Linked DNA regions of Homo sapiens: all the other regions are linked to region 1. The links are contacts of gene promoters, found by promoter capture Hi-C in blood cells and fetal thymus (Javierre and others, 2016). All regions are on one chromosome and are shown on one strand. The core of a region is centred on a gene start or on the middle of the fragment in contact, and the rest is flanking DNA. Distances in the headings are between cores, read along the strand shown.

Region 1 (5,938 bases), core at 2,453-4,952:
AAAATGGGGTCTTGCTGTGTTGCCCAGGCAGGTCTCAAACTATCCTCCCACCTCTGCCTGAAATGCTGGGATTACAGACGTAAACCATCACACCTGGCAGAGATAACATCACTAACATAGAATCTAAGATTGCCTTTTTGAGATGTTTTGGTGGCTACTGACTCCACTCAGACCCACCACTCATGACATCTGGTCCTGTGGCCTCCATCCAGAGGCTGTCAAGGACCGCTTTCTATACCCCTATGATTTCATCCCCAACCAATCAACATTCCCCATTTGAGCCCCCTGCCACCAAAGCATCCTTGAAAAACCCTCACCTCTGAGCCGTCGGGGAGAGTGATTTGAGCGATAACTTAAGTTCTTCCACATGGCCCACACTGTGTTAATTAAACTCTTTCTTTACTGTAATGCCACAGTCTCAGTGAACTGATTTTGTCTGTGCAGCAGGCAGGAAGAACCCACTGGACAATTACGTGATCTCTCTCCCAAGTCAGACCGCCTCCCAGTCCAGGAGACTTTTTTTTTTTTCTTCAAGACAGGCTCTTACTCTGTCCCCCAGGCTGGAGTGCAGTGGTACAATCTCGGTTCACTGTAACCTCTGCTTCCCAGGCTCGAGCAATCCTCCCACCTCAGCCTCCTAAGAAGCTGAGACTACAGGTGCAAGCCACCATGCTCAATTAATTTTTTTTTCTTTTTTGCAGAGACGGGGTTTCACTATGTTGCCCAGGCTGGTCTCAAACTCCCGAGCTCAAAGCAATCCACCCAAGTGCTGGGATTACAGGCATGTGCCCTGCTCCCAAGAGGCTTTTAACTGGTAAATCCATTCAGCCTTCCCTGGGCTTCATTTTTTTCTGAGATGGAGTTTCACTCTTGTTGCCCAGGCTGGAGTGCAATGGCATGATCTCGGCTCACTGCAACCTCCGCCTCCCGGGTTCAAGCGATTCTCCTGCCTCAGCCTCCCGAGTACCTGGGATTATAGGCATGTGTCACCACGCCCGGCTAATTTTGTTTTTTAGTAGAGATGGGTTATCTCCATGTTGGTCAGGCTGGTCTTGAACTCCTGACCTCAGGTGATCCGCCCACCTCAGCCTCCCAAAGTGCTGGGATTACAGGCGTGAGCCACCGCGCCCGGCTTCTGGGCTTCATTATTGACCTCTTGGAAGCTTTTGACATATTGACTATCCTTTCTTTTTCCAAACTTTTCTGTTGACTTCAGTGACATGCTGTTCTAGTTCTGTTTCCTTCCCAGTTAATTCTGCCCCTTTTGACTTCCGTTATTCCTCTCACCACTGCAATATGGGTCAGCAAATATAACCCATCTTAGGGTCATCATACTGAACTGTATCAGGGAATGCCATTCAGATCATAGTCTTTGTGACTGGCCCCACTCTGAGTTATGCAGTGCACAGCCTAGGCAGCTGTACATAGCACCTCTTCCCTTATCTATACTGCTGACTTCGGTTACCTATTCTCTGCAGATTCTTCCCAAAACCTCATCAGCAGCTTCTGCCTCACACCATTGGAAAATATTGTGGAGCAGACTGAATCCCCCAACCACCCACCCCTGGCAAGAGGCTCTGTGCCTCCCCATGCTCACTAGCATCAGTGGGACAAGGCAATATTATTTGGCACCATCAATGCACAAATCCAAGAATAAATAATCCAACCAGGTGTGGTGACTCACACCTGTAATCCCAGCACTTTGGGAGGCAGGTGGATCACTTGAGTTCAAGAGTTTGAGACCAGCCTGGGGCAACATGGCGAGACCCCATCTCTACTAAAAATACAAAAAAAATAGCTGGGCATGGTGGTGCACACCTGTGGTCCCAGCTAATTGGGAGACTAAGGTAGGAGGATCGCTTGAGCCCAGGAGGTGGAGGTTGCAGTGAGCCGAGATTGCACCACTGCACTCCAGCCTGGGTGACAAAGAGAGACCCTGTCTCAAAAAAAAAAAGAAAAGAATCCCCTGCTAAATAGTCTCTCTGGCTCAGCTTTATGTTTCTAGATTCAGTTAGAAGCAACTTGTTTCTTACAACTTTATTTTTTATTTATTTATTCTTTTGAGACTGAGTCTCGCCCTGTCACCCAGGCTGGAGTGCAATGGCGCAATCTTGGCTCACTGCAACCTCCAACTCCCGAGTTCAAGCGATTCTCCTGCCTCAGCCTCCCGAGTAGCTGGGATTACAGGCACCCGCCATCACACCCAACTAATTTTTGTACTTTTAGTACAGATGGGGTTTCACCATGTCGGTCAGGCTGGTCTTGAACTCCCGACCTCAGGTGATCCACCCACCTCAGCCTTCTAAAGTGTTGGGATTACAGGTGTGAGCCACCGTGCCCAGCCAATATCTGTATTTCAATATAAAGTTTTTTAAAAAAAACCCTTTCCTATGCATAATTTCACTTAATGCTCATAATAACCCTGAGAGATACACAGTAGTGTTAGATTTAGATACAAAAACTGGAAATTAAAGTAGCTAAAATGACAAATGGATGCAGTGGAAAAGCCAGGATCCAAATCCAAGTCTTTCCCCTACAGTACTTCACTCTGCTCCAAGCTCAGATTCACCAAATGTTGTTTGATAGAACACGTGAGCTGGGGCTGAAGGAGCAGGGACAATGCCTTTTTCACTTTTGCCTCTGATAGCCTGTAGACTGGTAGGCACTGAAGTATTTGTTCACTTGTGCAATAAATATTTATTGAGCACCTCGTATGTGCTGGGCACTGAAAACACAACCGTGAACAGAGGCTGTCACGGTTCCTGAACTCATGGAGCTTTCATTCCAGTGGAGGAGACATAATTTCAGTGATAATGCTACGACGGGGCACAATGTGGGAGAAAATAAGAGGGAGGTGGCCAGGCGCGATGGCTCCTCACTCCTGTAATCCCAGCACTTTGGGAGGCCAAGGCGGGTGAATCACGAGGTCAGGAGTTTGAGACCAGCCCGGCCAACATCGTGAAACCCCGTCTCTACTAAATAGACAAAAATTAGCCGGGCGTGGTGGCGTGTGCGTGTAATCCCAGCTACTAGGGAGGCTGAGGCAGGAGCATTGCTTGAACCTGGGAGGCGAAGGTTGCAGTGAGCTGAGATCGGGCCACTGCACTCCAGCCTGGGTGACAGAGCGAGACTCCGTCTCAAAAAAAAAAAAAAAAAGAAAGAAAAAGAAAAGGGGGAGGTAATTTTAGAATGGTCAGAGAAGGTTTTTTTGAAAAGATAACATTAATCAAACGAATAAATGAATGAAAAGCCACTCGCTAGCGGATTCATTATTTGCTATACTTATTTAGAGTTTGTCAGTCACGAGACTGTTACGGCTCTGATGCTGAGTATCTTTTGAATCCTATGTTGATGATGCCCAAAAGGCAAGTGCAGAGATGAAGCATAATGAAGAATCCTTTTCAATTTCTTTTCAGTCCTCTGACCTTGCCTCTGCCGTCACGGTCACACTCCCCCACTGACACTCCCATTCTTCTGTTTCCGGACACTTGCGGCCTGGAAGCGCATGTGCAAGAGAAACCGTCATTCCTGGTGAAGGGCGAGCCCCCGGCAGAACGCATGCGCCTCTGTCCCTTAAGCCCCGCCCCGACCTCAGCGCCCCCTCGCGAGCGCCTGCCGTTTCTCGGGGCGGGACGGGGGGGCGGGGACTGGGCGGAGAGGCGCGTGCTGCTGCGTGCGTGCGCGCGCGCCGCGGGCGGGCCAGTGAAACCGGCGGCCCTGGCACGTGACCTAGGACCGGCTCACCGGGTCGCTTGGTGGCTCCGTCTGTCTGTCCGTCCGCCCGCGGGTGCCATCATGGCGGACGCGGCCAGTCAGGTGCTCCTGGGCTCCGGTCTCACCATCCTGTCCCAGCCGCTCATGTACGTGAAAGTGCTCATCCAGGTATGAGGCGTCGCCGCTCCCTACCCCGCCCGGCGCCCCGTTCGGTCGCTGCTGCTCAGGGCGCCTGAGGATCGGCTCAGCCTTGCGGGCCTTTCATTCTCCCGAGATGCTGCTGCTCCTCCGCTGCCCTTTACCTCCCCGCAGGGACAGCTTCCTCAGTCCCGCGGCCCCGCTTGGGGGCCTCGCCGAGCCCTCGCCTCGCCGCCCAGCGTTGAGGCCCTCTCCTCCCTTAGCCAACCGCCACCCGGCCCTGCCCTGCCCGGCGGATCCTCTGAACTTTGGTTCTTCGTCACTGAGGTGGATCCTGGCCGGTCGCCACCAAAGGCTTCCGAACCCTCCCTCTCGCCCCTCCGAAATTCACATTCACCACTACTCCCCCCAAAATCTCAGACGCAAAACACGAAATACTCAGTTGAAGACAAATGTGAAGTTAGGTGGGAACCAACATTTTATTTTTTATTCCTTTTTTTTTTCTTTTTATGCTACTGTTACTACTGCTTTTCTGTTCCGAGGTTTTCGCACCAGATACTGAGAGAAACACAAGGAGCTCATTCAGAAGTGTTAATGAAGGGGTTGCTCTGTCAGATTTCGGAAGGATGCATTGAGCGCTTTCCAGCAGCGGCCCATGTGGCTCCTGACAATGAAAATCACATTTGTCAGAGCTGGAAATTAGTGAAGCTGAGTTTTAGCGAGTTTAAACATGGGAGTTAGTTTCTAATCTACTGTCAAATAATTATTACATGGTATTTTATATTCACATGCAGGTAGGCCAAGTAAGTGATAGACTTAGTGTTTCCAGTTCCTTTGCTATATCCCTGTAATGGGCAGGTCATTCTTTTTTTTATGCTTTTACTGAGAGTTGACATAATTACCTCATGCACTGTGCCTAGGAATGGAACAGTTTTTAGAACCCCTGTCTCGCCGTCTACTTTTCTGTAAAAAATAGGCAAGACACTAGAGAGGGCCCCATTTCTTATTCTTGAGTTGTTGGGAATCCAAATTATTTCTTGCTGAGTAGACCTGTGTGAATTCAGATTCCATATGTTAAAGGCTATTGCAAATAAATTCTTTGTACTTAGAACAAAGACTGATTAGAATGTACTGTAACATCCAAAACAGAATTGGCACATTTGGGGCTAGATAGCATCGGAGGTGACAGCATGTTGCAGTATATAGTAAGAACCCTTGGGGCCGGGCGCGTTCGCTCACGCCTTCCCAGCACTTTGGGAGGCCGAGGTGAGCGGATCACGAGGTCGATGTTTGAGACCAGTCTGACCAACATGGTGAAACCCCGTCTCTACTAAAAATACAAAATATAGCCAGGTGTGGTGGTGCGTGCACGTAATCCCAGCTAGTCGGGAGGCTGAGGCAGGAGAATCGCTTGAACCCGGGAGGTGAAGGTTGCAGTGAGCCGAGATCGCGCCATTGTACTCCAGCCTGGGCAACAGAGCAAAACTCAGCCTCAAAAAAACAAAACAAAACAAAAAAGAACCCACTACTCAATACTTCTCTGGGAGACGGGGTTTTCTAATGATGTTCAGAGCTCTTGCCCCAAAAACTTTGAATATTCTTAATTCTGATTTCACAACATCTATGTGTTGCCAAGTAGCCCAGGAGTTTTGGTGAAATTCCCAAATGCTCAGTTGTAAAAATAGTTACTTGGGCCGGGCACGGTGGCTCACGCCTGTAAATCCCAACACTTTGGGAGCCTGAAACAGGCGGTTCACCTGAGGTCAGGAGTTAAAGACTAGCCTGGCCAACATGGCAAAACCCCCTCTCTACTAAAAATACAAAAATTAGCTGGGTGTGGTGGTGGGTGCCTGTAATCCCAGCTACTCAGGAGGCTGAGGTACGAGAATGGCTTAAACCTGGGAGATGGAGGTTGCAGTGACCTAGATCGTGCCACTGCACTCCAGCCTGGGCGACAAGAGCGAAACTCTGTCTCCAAAAAATAAATAAGTAACTAAATAAAAATAAAAATGGTTACTTGGTAGCACTTTCAGGGAGCTCAGACAGGAGTTATTTGTTTATTTATTTGTTGTTGTTTTTGAGATGG
Region 2 (5,938 bases), core at 972-3,471, 840 kb after region 1:
GGAAATGGTGAAATGGAAAAAAGAGGATGAGATTGAAGAATAGATTACAGACCAATCCTTTTTCCCTCCTTATAATTATCTCTTCTTTGTATTGTATAAATCAAGTAATCCCATTAATTTCTCAATTTTTTTCCTTTAATGAAAGTAGTAAAAAGGCATTAACTTTAAAATTTCTTATGATATTCCTGAAATTATTTTTAAACTGTTTTGAGTTGTCACCTGATTTAGCATATTCTGTGGGCTTTCCTGTTCTCACAGATTATAGTTCTTTTTTTTCTATTATTTTTAATTGATGTATTTATTTTTGAGACAGAGTTGCGCTTTGTCACCCAGGCTGGAGTGCAGTGGCACGATCTCAGCTCACTGCAACCTCCATCTCCCGAGTTCAAGCGATTCTCCTGCCTCAGCCGCCTGAGTAGCTGGGATTACAGGCGCGTGCCACCATGCCCGGCTAATTTTTTTTTTTTTTAATTTTTAGTAGAGACAGGGTTTCATCATGTTGGTCTTGAACTCCTGTCCTCAAGTGATTTGCCTGCCTCAGCCTCTGAAAGTGCTGGGATTACAGGCGTGAGCCACTGCGCCTGGCCTATAGTTCTTTTATTTATAAGATGCCTCCCTCCCAGCTCATCGCTTCTTTGATTTTGTCATGTGCCTATGCCTATGGACATTTGATTTTTTATATATATATAATTTATTTATCTTTACATTAAGATTTGGATTTTCGAAGTGCTTTCTTATATAATCTTTAGACTTCTATGTGGTATTAATCTTTTTTCACTTGTTCTTTCTACTTTTCCCCCCTTAATTATTGCTTGTTTTCATCATAGTTTTCTAAACACAGTAATTCATAATGGGTTTCATTAATTTGTTTCCTTTCCTCTGTCAACGGTGTGCTTTAGTTATTATTAACTAGTGGCTTTAATTTCTAGTTAAAGATAAATACCAATTGATAATTACTTTAAAGCACTTTGTTTTAATACTGTAGGCCTCAATTTATGAGAAAAGTGACAGCACTTAAAACTGTACAAGATTTCCTATTGTTTAAATTATATTGAGATTATGAGCTAAAGCTTCCATTCCCTGGTCTAGAACAGAAATTACTGAAAAGACAGAAGTCATTGTTTTTCTTACCTCTGAAATGGAGTCCCCCCTCATATGTTACTTTTCTTAAAAATAAACACTTCTCCATCTTCCCTACTCTCATTTCCCTGTTGAGAATAACTTGTTTATGGGAATAAACAATGAGTGTCAATGAGTGTGACAGGCAGGTATTATATTAGGGTATCTGGTCCATTGCTCACTTATAAGTTTATTTGAGCCTTTGCAATCTTGAAATTTAACAGATTCGCAGTATCTTCTTCAATACTATACAATAAGATCATGAGTGTCTAGAGTCTAGCTCCCACTGGTTACTGTTCCAACAATGGATAGGGAGAGGTATTCTCCTAAGAAAGGAATAGAATGATAGTTTTTTAACTGAGCCCATATGACAAAATCACCCTTTGAGCCATTTAAAAATACTGATGTCCAAATTTCATCCCAGATTCATTGAACTAGAATTTGTTGGAATGGGATCTTACATGTTTTTGATGTCCATTCCTAGAATATATATTTAGATGCTAAATATAAAGCCTAGCATCTAAATCATATCTGAGAGGTATTTTGATAAGGAAAAATAATCAGAACATTTATAAATACCAATAGTGATTTCAATACAGAAATGAATGGAAAATTTTTTTCTTCATAGACTTACAGTAATTAGAGATTTAACAAAATGTTTATTAGGACCCTGATCTCATCCTCTCGTAAGGAAAAGTGAACTTAACACAAGTTGAGAGGGAGAACATGCTTTACTTAATAAAAGGAGCAAAAACTTTGGAGTCAGAATTGACCTGGGTTTGAATCACACAGCATTACCATTTGCTAACTACCTGACTGTAAGCACATTAATCTTTATTTAATTTTTAGAATCTGGCTGGGTACAGTAGGTCACATCTGTAATCCCAACACTTTGGGAGGCCGAGGCGGGCTGATTGCTTGAGCCCAGTAGTTTAAGACCAGACTGGGCAACATGAAGAAACTCTGTTTCTACAAAAAATAGAAACATTAGCAGGTGTGGTAGCATGTGCCTTTAGTCCCAGCCAGTCGGGAGGCTGAGGTGGGAAGATCGCTTGAACCTGGGAGGGGGAGGTTGCGGTGAGCTGAGATCAAGCCAGACTCTGTCTCAAAAAAAAAATCTTTTTGAAGTCTGCACTTTTTTGTTGTTTTTTTGTTTCTGAGATAGTGTCTCGCTCTGTCACCCAAGCTGGAGTGCAGTGGTATGATCTTGGCTCACTGCAACCTCCGCCTCCCAGGTTCAAGAGATTCTCCTACCTCAGCCTCCTGAGTACCTGGGACTACAGGCGCATGCCACCATGCCTGGCTAATTTTTCTATTTTTGGTAGAGACAGGGTTTCGCTATGTTGCCCAGGTTGGTCTTGAACTCCTGGGCTCAAGCGATCCTCCCACCTCAACCTCTTAAGGTCCTGAGGTTACAAGCGTGAACCACCATGCCTGGCTGTGAATCTGCAAAGTTGAAATAATAATAGTCCTTACCTCATAGGGTTTGGGTGAAAATTAAACTTAAAAAGGATTATAAAGTGCCTACAAAATTTTGGTGCCTAATTTGTTTTTTCAATAAATGTTAGTTTCTTTATCCTTATTCCTCAGCACTTAAGGAGTGCATATAAGTGCCAAGTAGAACTTCTTTCATGTTGCATGTTAGGAGTTGTTTAATGCAGAGAATCTAGAATAAAGCATTCTGCTTATGGAACACCACATTGTAGGGACTAGATAAAATTCAAAGTAGACTGGAGGCATTACTCTTACTGGGAAAAGAGTGAAAAAAGAAGAGTTGGGGGCATTTAAAAATAAAGCAGCCGTGTGTGTGTGTGCATTTATAAATAAAGCAGCCGTGTGTGTGTGTGTGTGTGTGTGTGTGTGTCTGTCTGTCTGTCTGTCTGTCTGTCTTGCTCTGGTACCCAGGCTGGAGTGCAGTGGTGCGATCTGCACTCACTGCAACCTCTGCCTCCCAGATTCAAGTGATCCTTTTGCCTCAGCCTCCCAAGTAGCTGGGACTACAGGCACACGTCACACTGCCTGTATTATTATATAATAAAGCAGCTTTTTAACACCAACTGATTGGGCAGTGTACCACAGTAAAATCTTACCAGGAAGGAACCCAGTCGTAGTCAGTATCTTGTTAAATTGACACAGATGCAGCTACTACCCGTGAGTTTAGATAAGTGCTGGGCTTTGTGGGTTGTGGCATAGGAGGGCAGTAATATAAGCAGTGCTAGAGGAGAATCGACTGAGACTCTGAATTGAAGCTTAACCATTATTAGATGACTGAAGTGGCAGCCTCAAGGCCAGAAGCTCCCTCAGAAGAATGGTTCTCAGAAGAATGCAGTAGCATTCACAATTTAGAGTCCCCATGGACTTCCTGAAGGTACCTGCAGCCGTTTGTACTGGTGCTTCTTGGTTATGAATATTAGAGCTGTTGCCCTGTGATGTCTTTCAGAGATACATTGCCTTTTCATTTTCCTTGTCCCAAAGCAAAGTCAGCAGACCTCTCGTCTCTCTGCCATTATCAGGGTCATTTCCTGCACAGTTGAACAGTGCTGACAGCCCAGACTGCCACTACTGGATAGTGAGCAATTTGATGTTGTGGTTTTATCTATGTTTTATTAGTAGAACTTTAAGATAGAAGACTAAACATAATGAAGGGAAGCTCCCAAATTCGATACAATGAAAGAAGAATTTCTCCTCTGTTGTAGTAAATAAAATTGGTCATATATTAGCATAAGAGCTTTCAGAGTTCTTTTTTTTTTTTGAGATGGAGTCTTGCTGCGTTGCCCAGGCTGGAGTGCAATGGTGCAATCTCGGCTCACTGCAGCCTCCGCCTCCCAGGTTCAAGTGATTCTCCTGCCTCAGCCTTCCAAATAGCTGGGATTACAGGTGCCTGCCACCATGCCTGCTTAATTTTTGTATTTTTAGTAGAGACAGGGTCTCACCATGTTGGTCAGGCTGATCTCAAACTCCTGACCTCAGGTGGTCCACCCACCTTGGCCTCCCAAAGTGCTGGGATTACAGGTGTGAGCCGCTGCACCCGGCCTCAGAGTTCTTTTGAGAATAAAATTTCAATACCCTTCTACATGGCTGTGACTATTTTGTTTTCCTTTTTACCCCCCTTTGTAGGTTGTTGGAAAGGACACCAATGTCATGTTGGTGGCTTTGGCAGCAAAATGTCTTACTGGCCTGGCTGTTGGGCTAAGGAAGAAATTTGGACAATATGCAGGACATGTAAGTAACACTCCTTTTTAGATACAGATCAACAAAATTTATCAAAAATGGTAGGCCTAGTTTGCTGTTTGCTTTAAAACAACTCCTTGGCATAGATGTGTATATACTGTACAAAGTAAATTTCTCTCTGTTTTGTTAATATTCAGCATAGATATATCTTAGAAATTTCAGTAGATGTCAGTTGTAACAAAATTTATAGGCCTTATGTAGAAAGTCAGGCACTAGGCCTAAAGTACTTAGTTGAGTTTATTTATTTGCTTATTACTTATTTACTTACTAGTATCTTGCTTTGTTCTTACAACATTATACACATCATAACAAGATGAAACAAAACTTGTAACGACCAGGACCAGAATGAAAATGAGAGTCGGAAAGGCAATGTAAAACTATAAATGTAAAACTGTGAGGTTAATATATAAAATGTGTTTTACATTGTTTTCCTATTTTAATATATAATTTACTTACATATTTGAGACATTTTATATAGGTTACAATGTTATATATTTTATATAGGTTATCTCCGTTTTACTTATTCAAAGAAAATCTGACTGGAGACATTTGTTGACTTACTATTTGTATAAGTTTGTTTCCAATCAAATTTGGTAATAATTTTAATTAAGATGTTTTCTTTAACTGTGGCATCTGTCCTTTGGCCTCTAAATCCGGTCTGCATTACTAAGAATGGCTCAGCATCCTAAAAATTGACCTTATTGATCTTTAGAGTTTAGCTTGCTAGCCCCTTCATCATTTGATTCCCTAGACTGACTTAGGAGTTTCCTAATAGTCCCTAGTCATGTGTCCATTTTATATTGTGAAGCTAATACCTAGCCTCACATGAGCTATGGTATTTGGAGCTTGCTTACTCATAGCATTAAAAATAATCTCAGAGAACTTAACTGAAGAAAAAGAAGACACTACCAAATAAAAATAAATCATGACTGGCTTATTACTAGGGAAATAAAAATAAGGGTCTGTAAAACCCTTAGACATATACATCATAAATTGAAATAAAATTAAAATCTATTTTTATAGCAATCAATATTATATAATATCGATGTGTATATGCCATTTTGATCAATTTTATATTACTTAGGATATTTTACACTTTTATATTGGGAATAATTTTTCAAGATAAAAAACAATTTTTTCCTACACCACTTAAATATCAGTTCAGAGAATAATTTTAGTTTTTTTTTTTTGAGACAGGGTCTCACTTTGTCACCCAGGCTGGAGTGCAGTGGCACCATCTCAGTTCACTGCAGCCTTAACCTCCTAGGCGCAGGTGATCCTCCCACCTCAGTCTCCTGAGTAGCTGGGACTTCAGGCACACCCCACACCATGCTTGAGTACTTTTTGTATTTTTGGTAGAGATGGGGTTTTGCCACCTTGCCCAGGCTGGTCTCGAAATCCTGAGCTCAAGCTATCTGCCTGCCTCAGCCTCCCAAAGTGCTGGGATTACAGGCTTGAGCCACCACACCCGGCCTAAAATTCATTTTAATTTACCAAATTATGGTTGGATAATTAACTGGCTTTCCAGTTTGAGTTCTGATTCTGGCTTTGTTTCAGTTTGTTGTCCTGGTTAAAGAATGTCTCTATT
Region 3 (5,938 bases), core at 1,819-4,318, 820 kb after region 1:
TAGGTCAAGAGCTTGGGAATTTGCCATAAAAAAGTCATACTGCCAGTGGTTTTTCTCTAAGTAGAAGAGAAAATAATCTGTACAGTAGCTCTGTAATTACTCTTATAGACTATCAAAATACAGGAATTTAAACTAAAAAGACACCACACTTGGGCCCATGGGTTGTAGGGAAGAGAGACAGACTGAGAAGTAGGAGACATAGGTTCTAGGCCCAGCTCTAGTATTACTCATGACTTAATCTCTCTGTCCCTTTTAAATGGTTGGTTAATGAGAAAATGCACAGATTTTGGGGTCTCTTTTATGATGGGATATAGTGCATATTTAATAGGAAATTTGTTATTTATTTGAACACTAAACTGAAAAATCAGACAATTTGGAATTTATTCTAAGTTCTGCCTTCATGTATAACCTTGAAAACATTTCTTAACCTCTAGTCTAAAAATAAACAATTATGCCTAAACCTTTTCAGCAATAGCATGGACTATATGGTATTTGAGCTCTTAGGAAGACATTTTTAGATCAGTGGTATATGATTATAATATATCTGTAAAACATACTTACTTTAGCTGACCTACTTGTCTTTGCCTCAGTTTTAGACTGGGATAAAATCTGAGAGCTCTGAATAATTGAAATTTCTGAATATGTGTCTTTACTAGGGACTAGATCAAATAAACCACAGCAAGCATTATGTATAGTTCAAATTAATCTTCTTAATGCTTCTCTTTGTTGGCAATTTTATTTGCTCTTTAGGCATCAAACTCTACTGTGTAGCAAAAACTTGGTTCTTATATCTGTTTATAAAATCCAGATCAGTCTGCTCATCCCTATATGATACTTTTAACTTTTTGAGAAACTTCCAAATGGTTTTACACAGCAGCTAGACCATTTTGCATTCACAGCAGCTGGACCATTTGGCATTCAACTTAAAAAATACAGAGGTATAATAATTTTTATTGTATTTTACAGACATACTAGTATTCAGTTGGTGGGGGTGGTAGGGGGAAGACTGGTCCTGAGTTTGAAAAGCACAGTTTGATGAACATGTGAACTGTTTCCAGCTTTTGACTACTATGAACAACATTGCTATGACTATCCCTATATAGGTCTTCTGGTGTAATTTGCATCAGTTTCTAGGCTATACACCTAGGAATGGAGTTGCTGGGTGGTAGGGCATGTGTATCTGATAATGCCATACTGTTTTCCAGACTGTTAAACTATTCTGTCTCCCATCATTGGTGTATTTGAGTTCCTGCAGATTCTCCTGACTCCTTTAAATTACACTGCTGCTGTTTCATGGCAATCCTAGGGATTTTGAAGAAAAATCTTAATGAAAGTTCCACATATCCTAATAAACTTTTACAATTCCATCTTTCTCTGGGACATTTTCTTCTTTGCCATGGGAGGGAACAAAATGTAAAGGAAGAAGCATAGACTATGAATCTTAGTTTAATTTCATTGCTTACCAGTTTTGTTGTTTTGGCAGGTTACTTAATATTTGTGAAGCTAGTGTGTAAAATGAGAATATCTTTCCTTCACATAGTTGATGTCAGTATAAAGTGAATTAGCGTGTTTAAAAAGTACTTTGCACCATGCCTGATTCAGAATAGATATTACCAGAGTATATATTCAATAAACAAATATTTATTGAAAACATATTTTATGTCAGGCCAGAACTAGGGATGGAGAATTACGGAGGACCGCTTCTATGTTATTAATAATATTGAAAAATCGGCCAGCCTGGGCAACATAGTAAGACCCCATCTCTACAAAAAACTAAAAAATTAGTTGGGCATGGTGACATGTGCCTGTAGTCCCAGCTCCTTGGGAGGCTAAGGCAGAAGAATCACTTGAACCCGGGAGGCGGAGGTTGGGAGGATCACTTGAGCCCAGGACATCAAGGTTGCAATGAGCTGTGATCACACCACTGCACTCCAGCCTGGGTGACAGAGTGAGACCCTGTCTCAAAAATGAAAAAGAAAAATTGGAAACAATTTAAATGTCCAATGGTAGGGTTGGTAATTATGGTACATTTGTAAAATGGAGTGCTATGTAGACTTTAAACATCATATTCTCAAATCTGGGAAAATGTTTGTGATCATATAACAAAAATGTTGTAAGGGGATTATGCCTGTCTTTTTCATATGATTTATATTACTACATGTGTATTGAAAAAAAACTGGATACGTACTTTAGTGTTCATCATGGTTATTAGGTGGTGGTAAAATTGTATTTTAATACTTAGATTTTTTTCTGTAGTTACTAAATTTTCTGCAGTTTACACACATTACTTTTATAAGAAAAAGGTGTTGTCTAGATAGATAGCATAGGGGTGGGTGCGGTGGCTCACGATCAGTGGGATCACTTGAGCCCAGGAGTTCGAGACCAGTCTGGGCAATATAACGAGACCTTGTCTCTACAAAAAATTTCAAAATTAGCCGAGCATGGTGGTGCACACCTGCAGTCCCACCAAATCCTAGCTACTCAGGAGGCAGAGGTGGAAGGATCGCTTGAGCCCAGGAGGCAGAGGTTGCAGCGAGCCAAGATCGTGTTCATTCCACTCCAGCCTGGACGACAGAGCAAGACGCTGTCTCAAAAAAAAGAAGATAGGTAGCATAAAGTTATTAAAAGGATGTTGACTTTAAACCTCACTTAAAAACATGGTTTACATAAAGAATATGTATAAAGGTTCATTCAGGGATTTAATTTTGTACTTGTTTATATAAACATTGACTAGTCATGTTTGCTAGAATTAGGGAGCTTGGCAGTATCAACATTTTTACATATTGATTCTTTCCTTTTCTTTCTTTTTTTTTTTTTTTTTTTTTTTGGGACGGAGTCTGTTGCCCAGGCTGGAGTGCAGTGCGATCTCGGCTCACTGCAAGCTCCGCCTCTCGGGTTCACGCCATTCTCCTATCTCAGCCTCTAGAGTGGCTGGGACTGCAGGCGCCAGCCACCAAGCCCGGCTAATTTTTTGTGTTTTTAATAGAGATGGGATTTCACCGTGTTAGCCAGGATGGTCTCGATCCTGACCTCGTGATCCGCCCGGCTCGGCCTCCCAGACTGCTGGGATTACGGGCGTCAGCCACCACACCCGACCCCCATATTGATTATTTTCTATAAGTAATTCTAGGTGAAAGTATGACTTTTTCCAAAACTTTTTTCTTGGCCTTTTAAAAGGCCATTTAGCTCAGCAATTCAGTTTTATTCCAGCTTCGTTTTATATCTAAGAAGTTCTTATTTGGGAAAATAAAAGCATCATTTTTTAGAAAACAAATTTTTGGTTTTTTTGAGACAGGGTCTTGCTCTGTTGCCCATGCTGGAGTGTAGTGGCATGATCACAGCTCACTGCAACTTCTGTCTCTTGGGCTCAAGTAGTCCTCCCACCTCAGCTTCCCGAGTAGCTGGGACTACAGGCACACACACCACTACGCCTGGCTAATTTTTGTGTTTTTAGTATAGATGGGGTTCCACCATGTTGCCCAGACTGCAATATATTTATATTTATATTTTTTGAGTGACTTTATTTTTTTGAGATGGAGTCTTACTCTGTCGCCCAGGCTGGAATGCAGTGGGACAATCTTGGCTCACTGCAACCTCCTCCTCCCAGGTTCAAGCGATTCTCCTGTCTCAGACTTCCGAGTAGATGGGACTACAGGCCTGCACCACCACACCCAGCTAATTTTTGTATTTTCAATTGAGACGGGATTTCACCATGTTGACCAGACTGGTCTTGAACTCCTGATCTCAGGTGATCTGCCCACCTCAGCCTCCCAAAGTGCTGAGATTACAGGCATGAGCCACCACTGTGTCCTGTCTTTTGAGTGACTTTAAAAAAAAAATTCTATTGGCCGGGCGCGGTGGCTCACGCCTGTAATCCCAGCACTTTGGGAGGCCGAGGCGGGTGGATCACGAGGTCAGGATCGAGACTGTCCTGGCTAACATGGTGAAGCCCTGTCTCTACTAAAAATACAAAAAAATTAGCCGGGCGTGGTGGCGGGTGCCTGTAGTCCCGGCTACTCGGGAGGCTGAGGCAGGAGAATGGCGTCAGCCCAGGAGGTGTAGCTTGCAGTAAGCGGAGATCGGGCCACTGCACTCCAGCCTGGGTGACAGAGCGAGACTCCGTCTCAAAAAAAAAAAAAAAAAAAAAGTCCTGTTAATTGAATTAAGTGGGGATCTGACGAAAGAACGGGATTTTTACTCTTGTTGTTGCATGAATGATAAAATAATAATCTCAGAAAAGTTATTTTTGTCTTAAGAGACTGCCTGGTTGCTAAGCAGGTTTCTACCTTTATCTGACCAGGAAATACTCTTAATTCTAAGGAAAACCTGGAAGCACAATGGGAGATGACAGTGAGTGGTTGAAACTGCCAGTTGATCAGAAATGTGAACACAAGGTAAGATTCTTCTGGAATTCGATTTTCAGTGTCGTTGGCTTGTTTTGTGAGCAGTTATACTATCATCTTACTTAGAAGTGTGTGAAAACATTGGCAGTTTCAAAAATACTGATGCCTTGTTAGATATGTTATTTTTTCTCATTGAAAATAGGTTTCTGTAGCTCAACTAAAAATTTTTTTGTCTCTGGAAAGAATTCAAAGAAAAGATATTAGTGAAGTGAAAAGTAAGTGGTATCTATGAAAAGTAACTGGCTAGTTTTTTCATCTCCTTGTATATACAGTACAATATACTTCTGGTACCTAAGTACTTACTAATATTTTATTATATAGAGACTCTTCTTTTGAGATGTGTTCTGAATTTGGCCTTAGAAATCCAGCATTTTTTAGGTTCTCTGATTTATATGATCGGCATTCCAATATTTACCCTCAGAATCTACCAATCTTTATTTTCTAGTTTATGCTAGTAAGATACAATTTATTACATCATGTCATTATTTGGTGGGCATCCTTTCAGATTATCTTATTTTTTCCCCAACTATACCTCTAGTTTCTTTCATTTTTAATCATTTTAAACAAACATCTACCATCTGGTAGATTTTAGAATTTCATTTCTTCTTGTAAATTTATTCTACTCCAAGTCCTCAGGTTTACCACTTTATGTTCTTGACAGTTCTTTTAAAGTTTGTTTTGAATCTGAGTATTCAAGATTTATGGTTGTTGATTACTAAAAATACTGAATAAAATATACTAACTTACACAGTTGTATACATACAGTTCTACCTATGTAGAGTAGAAATTTGGAGCCATGGTCCCTATATCCTCCACAGAACCACTCCTTCATCCTATATAATAAATTAGCCAAGGCCGAATACTGTATCAAAAATCAACATGTAGCTCTTCAAATAAGGCCAGATTAAAAGTGAGCTAGTTGGTTTTTATTCTAATTCGCATAGAAATTGTTGGTTATGTAGTACATTAAATTGCAACAAAAATTGGGGGAGAATTTTGGAACTTATTTAGAATCGTTAACTATAATGCTTTTTTTGGTAGATATTGTATATTCTCACTGAAAGGGGCAGACAATATAGATAAATCTTAGACTTTCCGATTTTTGATTGGTTAATATGTGCTAAGAGTTTTTCAATCTCGTGTGATTTGGTACTTTATTTTTCCCATTTTTTGAGCATTTATTGTGTGTTTTTGAAACTTAAAGCATAGAGATGTTAAATCTGTTTAGGGAACACTCATTCTACTTTATAGAATGAGATGTTGCCCAATTTTAAAAAATAAAAAAATAAATCTGGTTTAAATTGGTTAGTAAATGTTCAACTATGATGTTAATTTATGTTATACTTCACTCTAATTTTGCAGAATAGGTAATGCCTTCTTCCTAATGAATGCATCTTATAGTGGGTTAGGCAGCATTCCTTCCTTAGAAGGAAGAGTTTTTTCTGTGAGCATAGCACCTGCCCCAAATCACATTTTCAATTACATTAATTGAATCAATTCAATTACATTTTCAATTACATTTTTACTTACATTAA
Region 4 (5,938 bases), core at 1,212-3,711, 520 kb before region 1:
TACTAAAAATACAAAAATTTGCTGGGCGTGGTGGCACACACCTGTAATCCCAGCTACTCAGGAGGCTGAGGCAGGAGAATCGCTGGAACCCAGGAGGTTGAGGTTTCAGTGAGCTGAGATGGCACCACTGCACTCCAGCCTGGGCAACAGAGCAAGACTCCATCTCAAAAAAAAAACAGCATCCAATTTTTTCAAAGTACTGTGTGTGCGTGTGTGTGTGTGTGTGTTTACAGATGTACATAAAGAGTCTTATAAAGATGTACACCAAACTATAAACATTGGCTACCTCCAGGAAGCAGGATTGGGGAAGGAAGAGTAAGAGAAAAATATATTGAGGCCAGGCACGGTGGCTCACACCTGTAATCCCAGCAATTTGGGAGGCCGAGGCGGGCGGATCATGAGGTCAGGAGATCGAGACCATCCTGGCCAACATGGTGAAACCCCATCTCTACTAAAATACAAAAAAAAAATTAGCTGGGCATGGTGGCACACGCCTGTAGTCCCAGCTACTTGGGAGGCTGAGGCAGGGGAATCGCTTGAACCCAGGAGGCAGAGGTTGCAGTGAGCCGAGATCGCACCACTGCAATCCAGCCCGGTGACAGAGCAAGTCTCCGTCTCAAAAAAAAAAAAAAGAGGAGAGAAAAATATATTGTCAAATGCTTTCATATGAATAAGTATTGTTTTCAAAATATAAAAAAGAGATTAGACTCTAGTAGCAGGGATAAGAGTTCTATGTTTCTCAAAAAAGGATAAAAGATTGAGAAATACTACTTTATATAATTATAGCAGAAAAAAGAAAATCTCTCTTTTGACCAACACAGGAGTTGAATTTCACTCTTTCCACAACAACCACCAAGCTCACCCCAGAGCACGCAATGTACCCAGGCATCTAGAACATTCCCTGCTAGACTCAAAAACACAGCACATATTCATAGAGTTCTAAATCGGTACAGGACGATAGCCTGATACAAAATTAATATTCTGCTCTCATCCTGGTCAAGGAACATTCACCCCTTTGAGGAAAGCAACTTTGCAATATGTTCTGTTGAAAACATGCCTCAAAAACACTTCTCAGTAACAGTTTGGGTAAAACCAAATCCAGCAGTAGTACAGAAACTATACCATAGATATTAAGTGTTCCTTTTCTCCGCTGGTCAGCCACCCTTCTGTAGCTATGATAATTGATAGTCTTTAAAATGTACAAGTCTGGGTGAGGATAAATTGCTGTATTAACATTTAAGCAGCATTATGATATGTCACATCATTAATGTTTGATGAGTTTGTTTCATTAGCTTATTTTAAAGATGGTCAGACCTTCTTAGAAACAAAGACTGGAAAATACCAGTTTTATGAGTTTAAAACCTGGAAGCCAAAGTTCAAAGATGTCCTAAGATTATTTAATGAGTCAGAGGCAGCAAGGTAAAGAATCCTGACACTATCTCAGTAGTAGTTCCATTACTGACATCAGTACTACTATGTCACTTGTATTGGGTAATTTAATTCCAAGTCAGCTTAAAGTCTGCAAAGAAATCCAGTGTTAGTTCACAGCCAAGAGCTGGAAAGATCTGGAAGGGTGACATATTTTAACACAAGTGCATGACACAATGCAACCTTTTAAAAATGGAGGGGAAGGGCCAGGCAAAGTGGCTCATGCCTGTAATCCCAGCACTTCGGGACACTGAGGCAGGCAGATCACTTGAGGTCAGGAGTTCGAGACCAGCCTGGCCAACATGGAGAAACACCGTCTCTACTAAAATTACAAAAATTAGCTGGGCATGGTGTGCGTGCCTGTAATCCCAGCTACTTGGGAGGCAGAGGCAGGAGAATCACTTGAACCCAGGAGGCAGAGGTTGCAGTGAGCCAAGATCATGCCACTGCACTCCAGCCTGGGCGACAGAGCAAGACTCCGTCTCAAAAAAAAAAAAAAAAAAAAAAAAAATGGAGGGGAAGGGTGGAATGTCAAATACAGATCTTGGCCTCACCTCTGTCTGCACCATTAAAGGCCTATGCATTCGAAGGTCATACACAATCCCATACACATCCACGGTGTTCTCATTCTCTATCTGGTAGATGAGACGATCAATGGCAATGAAAGTGCCCGTCCTTCCGACCCCAGCACTGAGAGAAAAGAGAAATAAGCCTATTACAGTGGGTTCCCTCGACTGCAACCCTCTTAGAGTTCCTCATTTGTACATATATCTTGCTTTCCTTCACTGTCACACTTTGAGGGCAATGCACAGGATCAGTACACATTTGCTCAGTTGAAGCCTCAGCAAGTCAGACAGCACTAGCTTGGGACTGGGGCCTAAGTCCCAAACTCACATTTGAGTCAGATGCCACACATATAACCCTTTGCTCAAGCTTCTTCAATCTCAGTTCCATTCAAGTTGCCCATAACCCAGGATGGCGGCACATTTTAGCCATTTTTTCCCCACTGGGCAACAGAGCCCCTCCTGTCTTCTGTCCTAAATTAATTCCTTTAGCTTCAAAGCTAACTTCTTATTGTTAGGGGTTGGCAAACTTTTTCAGTAAAGGGCCAGATAGTTAACATCTTAAGCTTTGCAAACCATATGGTCTCTTTCTGTCACTGTAGCAGAAAAGCAACCATAAACAATATATAAATAAATGGGCATGCTGTGTTCCTAGAAAATGTTATTTACAAAAACAGCAGCTGACCAGATTTGATCCATGGGTTACAGTTTGCCAACCCCTGTTTTGGAAGCTCAGGGCTTAGGGAGTAAGTCCATGGTTCCTTATCCAAACCTTTCCTGAATTCATAAATGCCTATTACATTCCCTCTTAGGCTTTGCTTTTGTAAAGTGCTCATAAATATATAATGACATTTGAAATCTGTCACACGTGACGTGCCATCTGCGTACCTGCAATGCACCAGAATCGGCGATTCGGGAGGACTCTGCTTCATGTAGTCACGAACGAGGTACCGGAAGTTGATGAGCAGGTCAGTGGTGTCGGGAACACCGTGGTCTGGCCAGGAGGTGAAATGGAACTGTCTCAGAGGGTGACTCTCACTTGTCTGGATCTAAAAGCCCAGAAAATGATTTAGATCCAGACAGAAAGGCTGCCTAACAACATCAAAAAGGCAGGGGAAATCAAGCAGAGCCTGAGTACTAACCAGGAGTTGTAATGACTAAAAATTAAACTTTACATTTGCACAGCAGCTGATAAAGTGCTTGCTCATCAAACCCTCACAATATGCTCAAGAAGGAGAGTTTATTATCCCCCTTTAAAGATGAGGCAGCAGAGATTCACAGAAGTGAAGTCATTTCCCCAACACTGATTTCAGATGCAACAGAAGTCCCTCATCCTCCAATTCTGCATTCAGATCCTTCCCTTCCTGCCACAGCTGCCTATCAATAATGAACTCACATTCTTACACCTGCACCTCCTTAGAGCTGCATGAGCCCCATCCCCGAGCCCCCCTGGGAATGTCACTGACAATAAAACCAAAAATAATTTACTCAAATACACCATGATAATCAGTGCCTTCTAGGCAAGAATGGCCTCATAATTCACTATGTCCCCTAGAGAAGTGAATAAAGTGACAGGCCACTAGCAAGCACCATGCAAATATTTAGAATTGGAGAGAGCTGAGAAAGGACTCCCCCAAAAAACCATCCATTTCAACATCTGAAAGACAATAGAGCTCATTATTACACAGACTGGTTCCCTACCTCATACCAAAGCATATACCTTGAAGCACCAGAAGCCCACCCCAGCTGGGGCGAGTCCTGTCCCTGACTCAGCTGTACTCGTTATGCCCATACCAGGGAATGACCATACCCATGTGACCTACATCCGTACCCATGTGACCTACATCTGCACTGCAGGCATTTCCATCTCCATTATGACAGCTGCCCTTTGACACTCATTTTTTGAAATGTATATTCATGATAAGAATGTGCAGTATTCAAAATTTGGAAAACAGGAAAAACAGACAGAGTGAAGGGAGAGGTGCTAGAAGACCTCATCACAGATAAAGTTAACATTCACACATTTAACCAGAAGTACTGATCCAAAGACAGAAACCAGCTGTGAGAGATGGAGGTGGGGGAAGAGGAAGAAAAAGGGAGGGAGAGGGAGGAGGGAGAGGGAGGAGGGAGAGGAAAGGGAGTGGGAGCGGGCAAGGGGAGAAGGAGGGGGAGAGGAAGAGGGAGAAGTGAGGAGGGTTATACTTAGTATTATCTTCGTGGAGGGGCAAAGGGGCTCAGGTTAGGGGTGGTAGTCAAAGGAAATCTTTAGCTCTGTTTGTAATTTCTCGATTTTCTAAAGGAAAATGTATTCAGGCATTTTGTATAATTAAAAAATAACATGGTACTAAATGCCATGTGGTGTCCTGGATCAGAGCCAGGAACAAAACAAGGCTTTAGTGGAAAAACATGAAATCTGAATAAAGTCTGGAGTTTAGTTAATAAAAAATAATAATCATAGTAACAGCAATTTTTAAAAATGATGTGGACAACTCCATCCTAAATTCCCCTCCACAAGGTAAGCCCCAAGCAGTGGAGGCAACCAAGGAGAAGCCAGTCAGTTCAAATGAGCAAAATCTATAGAAATAAGCATGACAGGCCGGGCACAGTGACTCCCACCTGTAATCCTAACACTTTTGGAGGCCGAGCAGGTGGATCACAAGGTCAGGTGTTCAAGACCAGCCTGGCCAATATGGTGACACCCCATCTCTATTAAAAATACAAAAAAAATTAGCTGGGCATGGTGGCAGGTGCCTGTAGTCCCAGCTACTCAGGAGGCTGAGGCAGGAGAATCACTTGGACCCGAGAGGCAGAGGTTGCAGTGAGCTGAGATTGTGCTACTGCACTCCAGCCTGGATGACAGAGAGAGACTCCATCTCAAAAAAAGAAAAAAAAGAAAAGAAAAGAAAAGAAATAAGCATGACATTTTTCTACTACTGTGAGCTGCATTATTTAGGTGGCCAGATCATGGTAACAGCTTTGATGGCATCTCCAGAGGAGGAACTGAAATATTGAGGCCAGACCCTTTGAGACACAGCAATTAGTAAAGAATTACTACTTAATATACTATACTTTATCCATGACTTGTGGAATCTTCAAGGATAATCTCATAAACTAGACCCTAACCCATCAACCCCCAAAACCCACCCAAAAGATTCAAGATTCAACTCCAGTGAATCTATACTTCCCGGCTTTCCTTTTATGCACTATTCATAATATGCATACATTTTCATCTCCTAGAATGTTTCTCTTACATTACATCCTACCATGTCCCCATGGTAATTATATAGTCTACCCATCCCTTATTTATCTTTTTTTTTTTTTTTTTTGAGACCGGGTCTTGCTTTGTCACCCAGGCTAGAGTGCAGCAGTGGCACAATCTCGGTTCACTGCAGCCTCGACCTCCTGGGCTCAAGCCATCCTCCTACCTCAGCCTTCCAAGTAGCTGGGACTACAGGTGTATACCAGCATGCCTGGCTAATTTTTGGGTTTGGTTTGGTTTTGTTTTTGTAGAGGTGGAGTTTCAGCATGTTGCCCAAGCTGGTCTCAAACCTGAGCTCAAGCGATCCTCCCACCTTAGCCTCACAGGTTAGAATCACCGCACCTGGGCCATCATTTCTAATAGCTGAATAATGATATTATAAGCAGACGAGTCATAGTTAAGTTATCCATTCTGCAAAAGCTACAAAAGCTACAAAACCATGTCTGCATGGTTTCCAAAGTTTTCCTCTATTATAAATAATGCTGAGACTCGTCTTTCTGAATAAGCCTTTGGTTGCATTTCAGATTATTTCCTTAGGATAGTCTCAGACTTCAAGCCAGCACATGCCTAATGTTTAGGCCTGTGATATAAACAGCAGAGAGTTATGCCAATGCACACACCCATCAACAGATACCAATGCTGCTTCATGGCACTGCCTCTATTTTCAAAGCATCCTTGAAAAAGAAAA

Evidence for each region. Contacts are between HindIII fragments. The CHiCAGO score rates a contact against its expected background, and 5 or more counts as called.
Region 2: a contact is called between a fragment that was not itself captured here and the fragment with the promoter of MTCH2 in region 1, in 1 of 17 cell types (monocytes). The highest score is 7.2, in monocytes.
Region 3: a contact is called between a fragment that was not itself captured here and the fragment with the promoter of MTCH2 in region 1, in 1 of 17 cell types (monocytes). The highest score is 5.5, in monocytes.
Region 4: a contact is called between a fragment that was not itself captured here and the fragment with the promoter of MTCH2 in region 1, in 1 of 17 cell types (total B cells). The highest score is 5.0, in total B cells.

What each region holds. Positions count from the first base shown.
Region 1 is chr11:47,640,323-47,646,260 of GRCh38, reverse strand. It overlaps MTCH2 (mitochondrial carrier 2), which reads left to right and starts at 3,702. Exons shown (of 13, transcript NM_014342.4): 1 at 3,702-3,882. The coding sequence starts at 3,796. RefSeq lists a silencer at 3,512-3,781. The HindIII fragment of the contact is 6,217 bases long and covers 1,166-5,938 here.
Region 2 is chr11:46,799,603-46,805,540 of GRCh38, reverse strand. CKAP5 (cytoskeleton associated protein 5) reads left to right here. Exons shown (of 44, transcript NM_001008938.4): 9 at 4,237-4,341. Among named protein-coding and RNA genes, the nearest start is that of SNORD67, 40 kb to the right of the region's middle. The HindIII fragment of the contact is 2,298 bases long and covers 1,073-3,370 here.
Region 3 is chr11:46,819,631-46,825,568 of GRCh38, reverse strand. It overlaps CKAP5 (cytoskeleton associated protein 5), which reads left to right. Exons shown (of 44, transcript NM_001008938.4): 2 at 4,301-4,394. The coding sequence starts at 4,338. Among named protein-coding and RNA genes, the nearest start is that of CKAP5, 24 kb to the left of the region's middle. The HindIII fragment of the contact is 8,913 bases long and covers 1-5,938 here.
Region 4 is chr11:48,160,560-48,166,497 of GRCh38, reverse strand. PTPRJ (protein tyrosine phosphatase receptor type J) reads right to left here. Exons shown (of 25, transcript NM_002843.4): 23 at 2,880-3,040; 24 at 1,983-2,118. Among named protein-coding and RNA genes, the nearest start is that of OR4B1, 53 kb to the left of the region's middle. The HindIII fragment of the contact is 196 bases long and covers 2,364-2,559 here.